3 separate regions of the Homo sapiens genome follow, and all the other regions are linked to region 2. Evidence: promoter capture Hi-C in 16 types of primary human blood cells and fetal thymus (Javierre and others, 2016). All regions are on one chromosome and are shown on one strand. The core of a region is centred on a gene start or on the middle of the fragment in contact, and the rest is flanking DNA. Distances in the headings are between cores, read along the strand shown. Region 1 overlaps ARHGEF40 (Rho guanine nucleotide exchange factor 40). Region 2 holds the start of RNASE6 (ribonuclease A family member 6). Region 3 holds the start of LOC105370398 (a long non-coding RNA gene).

Region 1 (3,135 bases), core at 334-2,833, 290 kb before region 2:
GGTTACCTGAGCAGTGAGTGGAGGTAATGAAGAGTTGTGTTCAGCGTGTCTCGGGAGGGTGGGGGCTCCTCAGGAGGGCACGGTGGGGTAATGGTCAGCAGAGCTCGCCCACTCTGGTCCACCCCTCCTGAAGACACAAAATGGCCAGGCTGTCCTGGCTGGGAGCAGTCCATGCCTACCTCCTTTCCACCCTGCCTCCCCCAGTCCCCAAGCCCACCCAATTGCTTCTCTTTCCCAGTCCTGTTTCCCTTCACCCACTGATGCCCACTGACCCGTCAGGATGAGGAATCCAGATGCCATCAAGTCCCAAGCTACATCAGGGTGATCAGAGACGGAGACTGCAAGGGCCTCTTCTGGAATGTTGTCCCCTTTTCCTTCCTGCACAGTCTCCAGCGGAGGTGTTGGAGTGTCAGACAGGGGGCCTTCTGGGCCTGTGTGTCCTGCACAGACACAGACAGAAACATGGGACTGAAGTTAAGATGGTTCTGGTTGTTCTGCTCCCAGCCTAACCCTGCTCCTCCTCCTGCCCCCTCCCATAGGCCCGACCTGCTTTGGCCCTTGCCCCATGAGCCTCACTCCGTGTCATCTCACCTGCCATACACAGCAGGCCTGGCCCCTCCAGCTCTCTCTCTCCGGCCCCCTCTTCTGTAGGCCCACAGGCTTCAGAGAGCTGAGGCTCTTTCTCGCCTGCTGTTTTGAGCTCTTTTGGCTCAGATTCTGGCTTCCCTGAGCCTTCATATTCCTCCTTAACCAGGTGGCATTCTGGAAGCTTGTGCTCACTTGGTGAGGGCAGATTGCCAAGGGCTTCTTGGTGGCTGGCATCTTCCTTGTCCCCAGGGCTCAGTGGGGCACTGTCCCCTCCTCGGCTAAGAGCCCCTCGACCTGCAGCTCGCTTCTTTCTTCTGTTTCCTTTGCCTGTTCTCCGAGGGGTACCAGGTGGTCCTTCAGCCCCCTGGCCTCCTCCTCCTCCTCCTCTAAGCTCCCCTGGCCTCAGGGGGCAAGATCCGGAGGCTTCTCCCACAGCCTCTGCTGGGGGCTCAGACACCTCCAAGACTGCTGCCTCTGGGACAGCCTCAGCTCCTGGGGGAGACTCAGGGGAGGCTCCGGTGCTGCTCCCCTCGCCGGGTGGGCGTGCTCCATCCTGGCCCCGAGGCCCCAGGCCCTTCTGGTGCATCCACGCCCGGTGTCTCCGGTGGCGGCCCTTCCCTCCAGCGCCCTTGCGGGTGGGTACCGTCCGGACTCTGGAGAGGCCTGGGGAGCCTTCAGCATCTGTTGGGCTCCCCCTCACGGGCAGCGTCACCTCTAACAGCTCCACATACTCGCCCTCAGGTCCTTCCACAGGGGCATTGTGCCCATCCCCAGGACTCCGGGTACCCAGCGCCTCCTCAGGAAGTGGAGGGCTGGGAAGCCCTGGAGGTCCAGAGGGCAGTTCTGGGGGCAGTGTACTTGGCTGATGTCCAACCATGAGGCCCTCTTTGTGCACAAATCGTGGACAGATGAGCTCAGCCCAGGGCAGCCGCTGAATCCCAGAGGGCGCAGACAGTAGGCAGGTACTGAGGCGACCTGTTGGCCGGTCCTTGTTGATGCCTTGTAGCCACTCAGGTGTGAATAGGTAGGCACAAGCCTCATTGGGCACAGGAACCTCCTGCACCCGCCCACCCCCAGGGGCCAGACACTTGAGTGCTAGTCGGGGTGCTTGGGCAGCTGAGGGCACCACCTGCAGATAGAAGTCTCCTGGGCGCAGCAGTTGCCAGGGTAGGGCTGCTAGCTGCACCACCACCTGTTCATGCAGGCAGAGCGGCCACCCCTCATGGAAGAAGAGGAATCCACTGTATTGGGCCTGGGGAGAGAGGTGGGAGGCTGCACTCAGGCCTCTGCTGAAGAAACCAGCAGGAGAGGGCAGTTAGAATGGGCCCACCCTAGGCAGGACCAGCCTTATGCCTGGAAGGTTATACTCTCAGGAGAGCAGGAGGGGAGATTTGGGGTATTCAGGTGGCAGAGAGGAAGGGATTGGGACTGATCGGTCTCCCAGTAGTAGGAAGATTCTTCAGGAAGCTAGTTCCATGTGTGGGAGGGTAAGAACTGAATCGTTACCAAGACATGGTCAGCAGATGCCATTGTCTTGGAGAAGCTAAAGACTCTTAGGAGTCTTTATATCTGTAGAAATGAATGATCTCTGTTGACTAATGTACGGGGGAGTTAGTGTCTTGAGAAATTCATATGAGGGGGAGAAGATGTCTGGAATTGGGTCTGGAGAGTTAGGGTCTTTGGGGGTCAGTATTGGGGTCAAGATGAATTTGGGGAAGATGAATGTGTGTGTGTGTGTGTGTGTTAGCATCTGAATGGTCAGTGCCTGTGAAGGTCAAAGTTTGTGAGAGGTCAGAGAATGAAGCTTAAGTGATTCTGGAGAGATCGGTTTCAAGGGAGGCTGTATCTCTAGGTTAGTGGGGGCATTAGTCAGCCTGGCTAGTCTGTAGAGTGTGGCAGTGGATCTTGGGGAAGGCAGAATAGTGATGCACGGCCACTCACACAGGCTTCCTGCTGGACCTTGGCAAGCAGGTGCTTGGCTGGTACCAGGAAGTCCAGCGTGTACCTCAGTGCGTCCTCCCGATAAGTCCTCTCCACCACCTGGAACACCTGGCCCAACAGGGTGGGGGCTGTTGCCTCAAAGGGTGGATACAGGGCGGCGAGAGTGCTCTGCACACAGTCCTCCACTGGCTCAGGCTCCTGTAGAGATAGGACCAGGCTACAGATCCCTAGAGATCACCCAATCATGGCTCCTTGGGAGCTGCACTGGTCTGGGGTTGGCTGTGTTCTCCAAAGCCCCGATTGTACAATGTGGGCAAAAAGTGAGCACTCAGGAAATGCTGGCTGATGAGCCCAGAACAGGAGTGGGGCTGGGCCAGAGTGCACAAACCTGGCAGGGCGCTCAACACTCCCGCTCTGAGACCTTGGCTTTGGAGATCCAGGGAGAATTTGTTGTGAATGCCCCTGATCAGGGCTGTTCCGGGTGCTCGTGAGTTGGGGTGATTGCATAGATCTTTCCCAGGAGAGAAAAGACAGGCTTCTGGGCTATCAGGGGACTGAGCTTATGGCTGAGAACTCGAGGGGATGAGGGAGATTTCCACACAGCCA
Region 2 (3,047 bases), core at 461-2,960:
CTGCCTCAGCCTCCTAAAGTGCTGGGATTACAGGCGTGAGCCACCACGACAAGCCTAGTGCTTTTTTCTTGATCTATGCTTTCTATTTATCCATTTCAATAAATAATGGAGGATTGACCCTAAGGTTACTACAATGGATTATTATCCCTATTACTACTACTATCACCTTATATTTAAAACATTATCTGATTAAAAACGGAAACAAATAGAAAAGACATAGGATCCTTCAGTTGCCAGTGACAGAATCTATGTGTGAGTTATCATCAACTGTCTTTGAGGTATCAGTACTACCTCCAATTAAGCATAGACAATGGTTTCCAGGGGAATATATAAAGTCATGAGCAGAGTTTGAAGAAATGCTCCAAAGTCCCAAACGCTGTCCTTTCTTGTGGGCAAGGAAGTGGGGCCCCAGGGAGGCCTCAAAAGTTTTCTAGGGACTTAAAGTCAAAACAGTGTTCCTCTGAGTACCGGTCAACAATGCTTTGAAAGCGGATCTCAAACACACACTCATTAGAATGCAGCAGGAAGTGGTTTTATTGCTGTGAACACAGGGCAATAAAGCTTGGCAAAAGTTGCAGGGTTAGAAATCTGAATCTTTCTTTGCTGTCTTCCCTATTCCCTTCTCTCGAAAAGTACAGAACTACAAAGCAGAAAATAATCTTATTTCTTTTTGTCTCAACTCTGGTCTGGCATCCTAGGCACTCGAATTCTCCAAACACCTTTCTTCTTTCTTCTACGGGAACAAGAAAATCAACAAAAGAAAAGAAAACATGGATGCAATTGTAACAGAAGCTATGTCAAATGAAAGGAAATGCAGTGGATGCCTTAGAGAATACTATCTAAGTGTACAGGAACCAACTTGTAGGGGGGATCGCTCTTCTGAGGGGGGTCACAGGCAACAATGAAGAATTTGTACTGGGCAGCAGCACTATAGCGGCACTGGGGATACTTTCCTGAAGTGAGTCTGCAGTCAGTCATGTTGACAGGCTTTGAGCTCTGGTGGCAGTTGTGCCGACGATTTTTGCAGACAATGCTGAGCAAATCACAGACAGCAGCCACATTCTGGAAAGAGTCATGCAGAAAGGTATTTTGATGCTTACAGTGCTGGGTATAATTGTTGATGCCACTCATTGCCCTGTTGCATTGGAGAGGACTTGGCTGTATATGCTGAATTTCAAACCAGTGAGCCTTGGTGAGACGCTTAGGCCAAGCATGAAGTGGACACACTGGTCCCCATAGAACCAGCAGCAGTAAAAGAAGAGGAAAGCATAGCACCATCTTTTCTGTGTAGAAAGAGAGAAGATAGTTATAGTAGGAGAAGCAATAAGAGCAAAATTTTTAATCATAACTATTTAGATTTTTATTTTGCCTTTTAAGATTTTACAGCTCCCTTTAAAATCTTCTTTCTCACATAGTCTCACAATTCTATGAAGAACCTGAAGCCCAGGAAACAGAAATATGACCTCTCCTTTGATTGGCATATCCCATTTTCTTTCACAAGTACTCATGCATTTGATGGCTGTCATATCAGAAAGTTTCTTCCCTCTTCCCTCCTGAAATATTTACCCTCTATCTGACCACTACCTCCCAGCCGTCTTTACTGCTCTACTCGCTCCAGCCCTGAGGCTTTCTTTCTTACCTGGTCTCAGTGTTGGGGCTCCTGCTGAGAACAGAGGCTGTGATTAGTCCAAAGCTCAGAAGCTGTTGTCTGCCTTTCTTCTCTAACCCTTCGAGCCCTGTGTGTATAGGGAAGGGGAAGAAATATTCTGAGCTTTCAGAAGGAGAATCCTAGGGTTTGGCAGATTAACTTCTTGTGCAGAGTCTGGATTAAACTCTTAGACTTTCACACCTGTTCTTTAAAACAGTATCATTATCACATGTATACAGGAAGGCTAAACCAACTTAAAGAAACAACATGACTGAAAACTCACAGTTTTGAGGAACTGATCACTTCCTGATATGGAATGAGTGCTTCCTGCCTCATCTGAGGCTTCAGTGTTTTTTTTTGAAGCTTTATGATTCCTGTTTCTTAAGAGAAAATATGTCACATAAATATGATATAATGCCTGCCACATACTTGGTAATGTTGTAAGTTCCTACAACAGAAGTGAATACATTATTCATTTATGCATATACTTATTGGGCCAGGTACTAGGCTACACAAATTCAGGAGCTCATGAGTTTTTTTTTTTTTTTTTTTTGAGACGGAGTCTTGCTCTGTCGCCCAGGCTGGAGTGCAGTGGTGCGATCTTTGCTCACTGCAAGCTCCACCTCCTGGGTTCATGCCATTCTCCTGCCTCAGCCTCCCGAGTAGCTGGGACTACAGGTGCCTGCCATCACGCCCAGCTAATTTTTTTGTATTTTTAGTAGAGACGGGGTTTCACTGTGTTAGCCAGGATGGTCTCTATCTCCTGACCTCGTGATCTGCCAGGAGCTCATGATTTAATGAAAGAGATTAGAGACAGGCAGGTAAGTATATAGACAAGTAGATTATATTAATATAAATAGCACTTACAGTGTGATGGAGGACACTGCAGGAGGCTACGGGAAGATAGTAGAGGGGAAGGATTGTTGGAGGGCACAACACCTGAACTGAATTTTGAGGAATAATTAGAAGTTAGGTGAAGAGAGTGTTAAGCGCCTCCCAAAGACAGAATTGTGTATGAAAAGACCTGTAAGCCTGAAGAAGAAGGCCGAATTTAGGATATTTGCCTCTTGAATCTGTTCTTACCTTTTCACTGGTACTGCAACACCCTTATTCAGAAACTCATTGTCTTATGGAGGGCTCACATAAAAGCCTCCCACATGGACTCCTTGCCTTGTTTTTTTCTCCTTCCAATCCATTCTACATATTACTTCCAGATTAGTCTTTTTTTGAACAAGATATAATAGTACAACACTCTTGCCCCATGCTTTTATGGCTCCAAATGTCTGCAGAATAAACATAATGTCTGTTTATAGCAAGGTTGCAGGATACAAGGTTAATATACAAAAGTCAGTTGCTTTCTTATATACCAGCAATGAACAATTGCAATTTGATATTTAAA
Region 3 (3,419 bases), core at 209-2,708, 270 kb before region 2:
AATGTCACTAGAGCCCTGTCTCCATCAATTGCTGCAATAATCAAATCCTTTGGATGGGAGGGAATACAGAGGGCACCCTCAAAAGTTAGTGGTCCTAAGTCCTCCAACTTATTTTCATATCTTTGGATTCATAAATTCACAGAGGTTGCAGAGGAGAAAAACTTCCCTTAAGTAATCTTAACAGAAATTCTCCAAAGCCCCCTTTTACTTCTCCTTCAACTCAAAGTACCCATCCATTCCTCCCAAATAACCTTATCTACAGAAACTAATACATATTGTCCTTTTTGTCTGACCTTGAACCTTCCCTTATCTACTCTTGGCTAGGAGCTTTTTGGCAAGAGGCGGATGAGGAGGAGTTTGGCCTCCCTTGTTTAAATCCTTTGTTCTTCTGTCACGGAAGTCAGGCCTGCTCCATTCATCACAGGTTTGACCACTCAACATTTGACACCACAATGATAAATAGAAATGCTAACACCATTCAAACTTTCCCTACATGCTAGTCACTGTACTAAGTGCTTTATATGTATTGTTACTTTTAATCCACATTATACTCTTGTGAAGTGGTAGTGAAGATCCATGTCCCTGAAGGTATTCAAGCCCAAAAACCATCTGTTGGTAACATTATTGCCAGGCGCATTGGCTCACACCTGTAATCTCAGCAGTTTTGGGAGGCTGAGGAGAGTAGATCACCTGAGCTCAGGAGTTTGAGATCAGCTTATATAGATGGGGAAACTCCCACCTCCCTAAGCTAAGAGGCGTTCTATCACAGTGTGTATTTTCATCACGAGCACACATTTTTATTTACCTTTCCTCTTATGAACTGTGGACTTCTTACAAGATCTCATTAGCAATGTGGGCTTTCTCATGTCCCTGTGGCTCCGTGGATGTTCCCAAGCTTACTGGTTTTGGAGTCTTGCACAGGTAAGCATCCTGATAAGAGCTATAACTGCTCTTCTTTTTGCCCATTCATGGTGGGGTGGGGGTAGGGGGAGGACATTAGAATGAAGCTCTGAAGTCTTTGAAGCACTTTTGGAAGCCCAGTTGTGCAGGTGCATGGAAGAAATGTGATGAAATGAGTTGAAGCTCTCCCAAGGAGAAGAGAAGGCCCCCTGGATGTTGTTGCTACTGGTATGTTTTTTGGTGCCATAGCTCAAGGGTTATCCCCCAGAGCCCCAGACACTATGAAGAGGGCCAAAGGGTCCTGATCTTAAGGGCAGGGTGTAGGCAGAGGAAATCCCTGGAGCTGAGGATCCTTCTCTTCACAGTGATTCTGTTGGCCCTCTTCATGGTGTCTAGGGCTCATTTACTTCAGTGTGTGGAGACTTCTGGGAACCAGAGTCATGTAGAAAAGTCTCCTCCCCAGTCTACCTCAGATAGTCTCCCTTCTAGGAGAGCCAGCTCATCTAGCTCCAGTTCTTGGTTTACTTTCTTTACTGAACTCCATTTCCGCTCCTTTACTCCATGTTGAAACAATTTAAGTCCATCTGCACAAGACTGGGCAAAGCTCCCCTGGACACCATCCTCCTCTCTCCAAGCTCCCAGCCCTAGAAACATAAATATCTCATAATTAAGCATTCTCCTTTTCCCATTCTTCAGCTTTCAAGTAGGAATGCATCACAGTTCAGCCAGCCTTGGTATTTGGCCCAAATTATTATCTTCTTGTATCTCAGCTTTGGCTTTTGGAAGGCTGAATAGTCAAATTCCTATTTCATCACTATTCCTGGCATCCTTTAACTTGGCTGTGATCAAGGTCACACGAAGGATTGAGTGACAAATCTATTCAGGTAGGGCACCACTAATAAGAATAGGCCAGGCCATTTGGATTTATTGTTAATATCTGAATAGTTACTTCCAAATATTGGTGAGTACTCTAGATGTAACCTGGAGTGAAATTTTCCTTGTGAGCTTAAAAAAAAATTATTATATTGAAATTCTACCAGCCAGTGGAAGTATAAATGGGTATTTATTATTATTTATTATTTTTAAGAAAGATGCTATTATTAATTGTTGTGAAAGCTTATATATGAAACAATTATTTAAAATTTCCACATGGTTAAAAAATAGGAAATTAGTTGACCGATAATATAAATAATAGAAGAGAGTGTGTTAGCTAGATAACTTTAGGGAGAACCTTATGTCCCTTGATCAACAATGATTTGAACTGTGCAAGTCCACTTACATTCAAATTTTCATCTGCTTCTGCCATCCCTGAGACAGCAAGACCAACCCCTCCTCTTCCTTCTCCTCCTCAGCCTCCTTAACGTGAAGACAATGAGGATGAAGACTTTTATGATGAGCCACTTCCACTAAACGAATAGTAAATATTTTTTTCTTCCTTATGATTTTCTTAATGACACCTTTTTTTTCTCTAGCTTACTTTATTGTAGGAATATGGTACATAATACATATAGCATACAAAATATATGTTAACTGAACGTTTATGTTATTGGTAAGGCTTCAGGTGATCAATAGGCTATTAGTAGTTAAGTTTTGGGGGAGTCAAAGGTTATACTTGGATTTTCGACTGTACACTAGGCACCCTTAACCTCCATGTTGTTCAAAAGCCAACTGTACTTTCTGAGACCAAGGTATGTATGTATGTATGTATGTATGTATGTATGTATGTATGTATGTATGTATTTGTTTTGAGACAGGCTCTCATTCTGTTACTCAGGCTGGAGTGCAGTGGTGCCCAGGCTGGAGTGCAGATCATGGCTCACTGCAGCCTCAACCTTCTGGGCTCAAGAGATCCGCCACCTCAGCCTCTGGAGTAGCAGGGACTACAGGCATGTGTCATCATACCCAGCTAATTGTATTTTTTGTAGATATGGGGTTTCACTATGTTGCCCAGACTGGTCTCAAACTCCTGGGCTCAAGTAAGCTGCTCTGGTTAGGCCTCCCAAAGTGCTGGGATTACAAGTGAGAGCCACTGTGCCTGGCTGAGCCCAATGTATTTACAACAATTTAATAAACACCACAAGTAGTATTTAATTTAACAAATAGTACAGAACAGAACAATAGAAATTAGATTATATCATAATTCTATCTATGATTTAATTACTCTTTTTAGAATTGATTGGTGTATTATGATTTATTATGTAAATAAAATAATCCCTTAAGAAGTATACATATTTGAAAGACTTTTTTGAAAATGAGATATAACTTACATAAAATACACAAATCTTTTTTTCTTATTTATTTTTATGACCACCTGCTGCCTTTTGAAACAAATCTTAAGTATACAGTTCAATGAGCTTTCACATAGGAAACATATCCAGACCAAGAATAGAATATTTCCAGGTCCTCAGAAGGCTCCCCCATGCCCCTTCACAGTTATACTTCCCCAAGGCTACAACTATTCTGACCTGTATCACCACAGGTTACTTCAGAACTTTCTAGTTATTTAATGCTATTTAGGT

What was found. The method cuts DNA at HindIII sites, captures the fragments that hold promoters and counts their contacts. A CHiCAGO score of 5 or more calls a contact.
Region 1: a contact is called between a fragment that was not itself captured here and the fragment with the promoter of RNASE6 in region 2, in 2 of 17 cell types (monocytes and M1 macrophages). The highest score is 5.4, in monocytes.
Region 3: a fragment that was not itself captured here is called in contact with the fragment with the promoter of RNASE6 in region 2 in 1 of 17 cell types (M0 macrophages); the score reaches 5.2 in M0 macrophages.

The regions. Positions count from the first base shown.
Region 1 is chr14:21,072,637-21,075,771 of GRCh38, reverse strand. It overlaps ARHGEF40 (Rho guanine nucleotide exchange factor 40), which reads right to left. Exons shown (of 24, transcript NM_018071.5): 2 at 2,530-2,727; 3 at 592-1,840; 4 at 273-440; 5 at 7-127. Among named protein-coding and RNA genes, the nearest start is that of ARHGEF40, 3.9 kb to the right of the region's middle. The HindIII fragment of the contact is 1,623 bases long and covers 772-2,394 here.
Region 2 is chr14:20,779,931-20,782,977 of GRCh38, reverse strand. RNASE6 (ribonuclease A family member 6) reads right to left here and starts at 1,710. Exons shown (of 2, transcript NM_005615.5): 1 at 1,640-1,710; 2 at 511-1,283. The coding sequence starts at 1,278. The coding sequence ends at 826. The region is part of intron 1 of LOC107984671 (a long non-coding RNA gene); the gene reads left to right. RefSeq lists an enhancer at 566-635. The HindIII fragment of the contact is 1,450 bases long and covers 564-2,013 here.
Region 3 is chr14:21,045,764-21,049,182 of GRCh38, reverse strand. It overlaps LOC105370398 (a long non-coding RNA gene), which reads left to right and starts at 488. Exons shown (of 4, transcript XR_943588.3): 1 at 488-921; 2 at 1,037-1,128; 3 at 2,253-2,317; 4 at 2,675-2,786. It also overlaps a transcript of NDRG2 not described here. The HindIII fragment of the contact is 1,121 bases long and covers 898-2,018 here.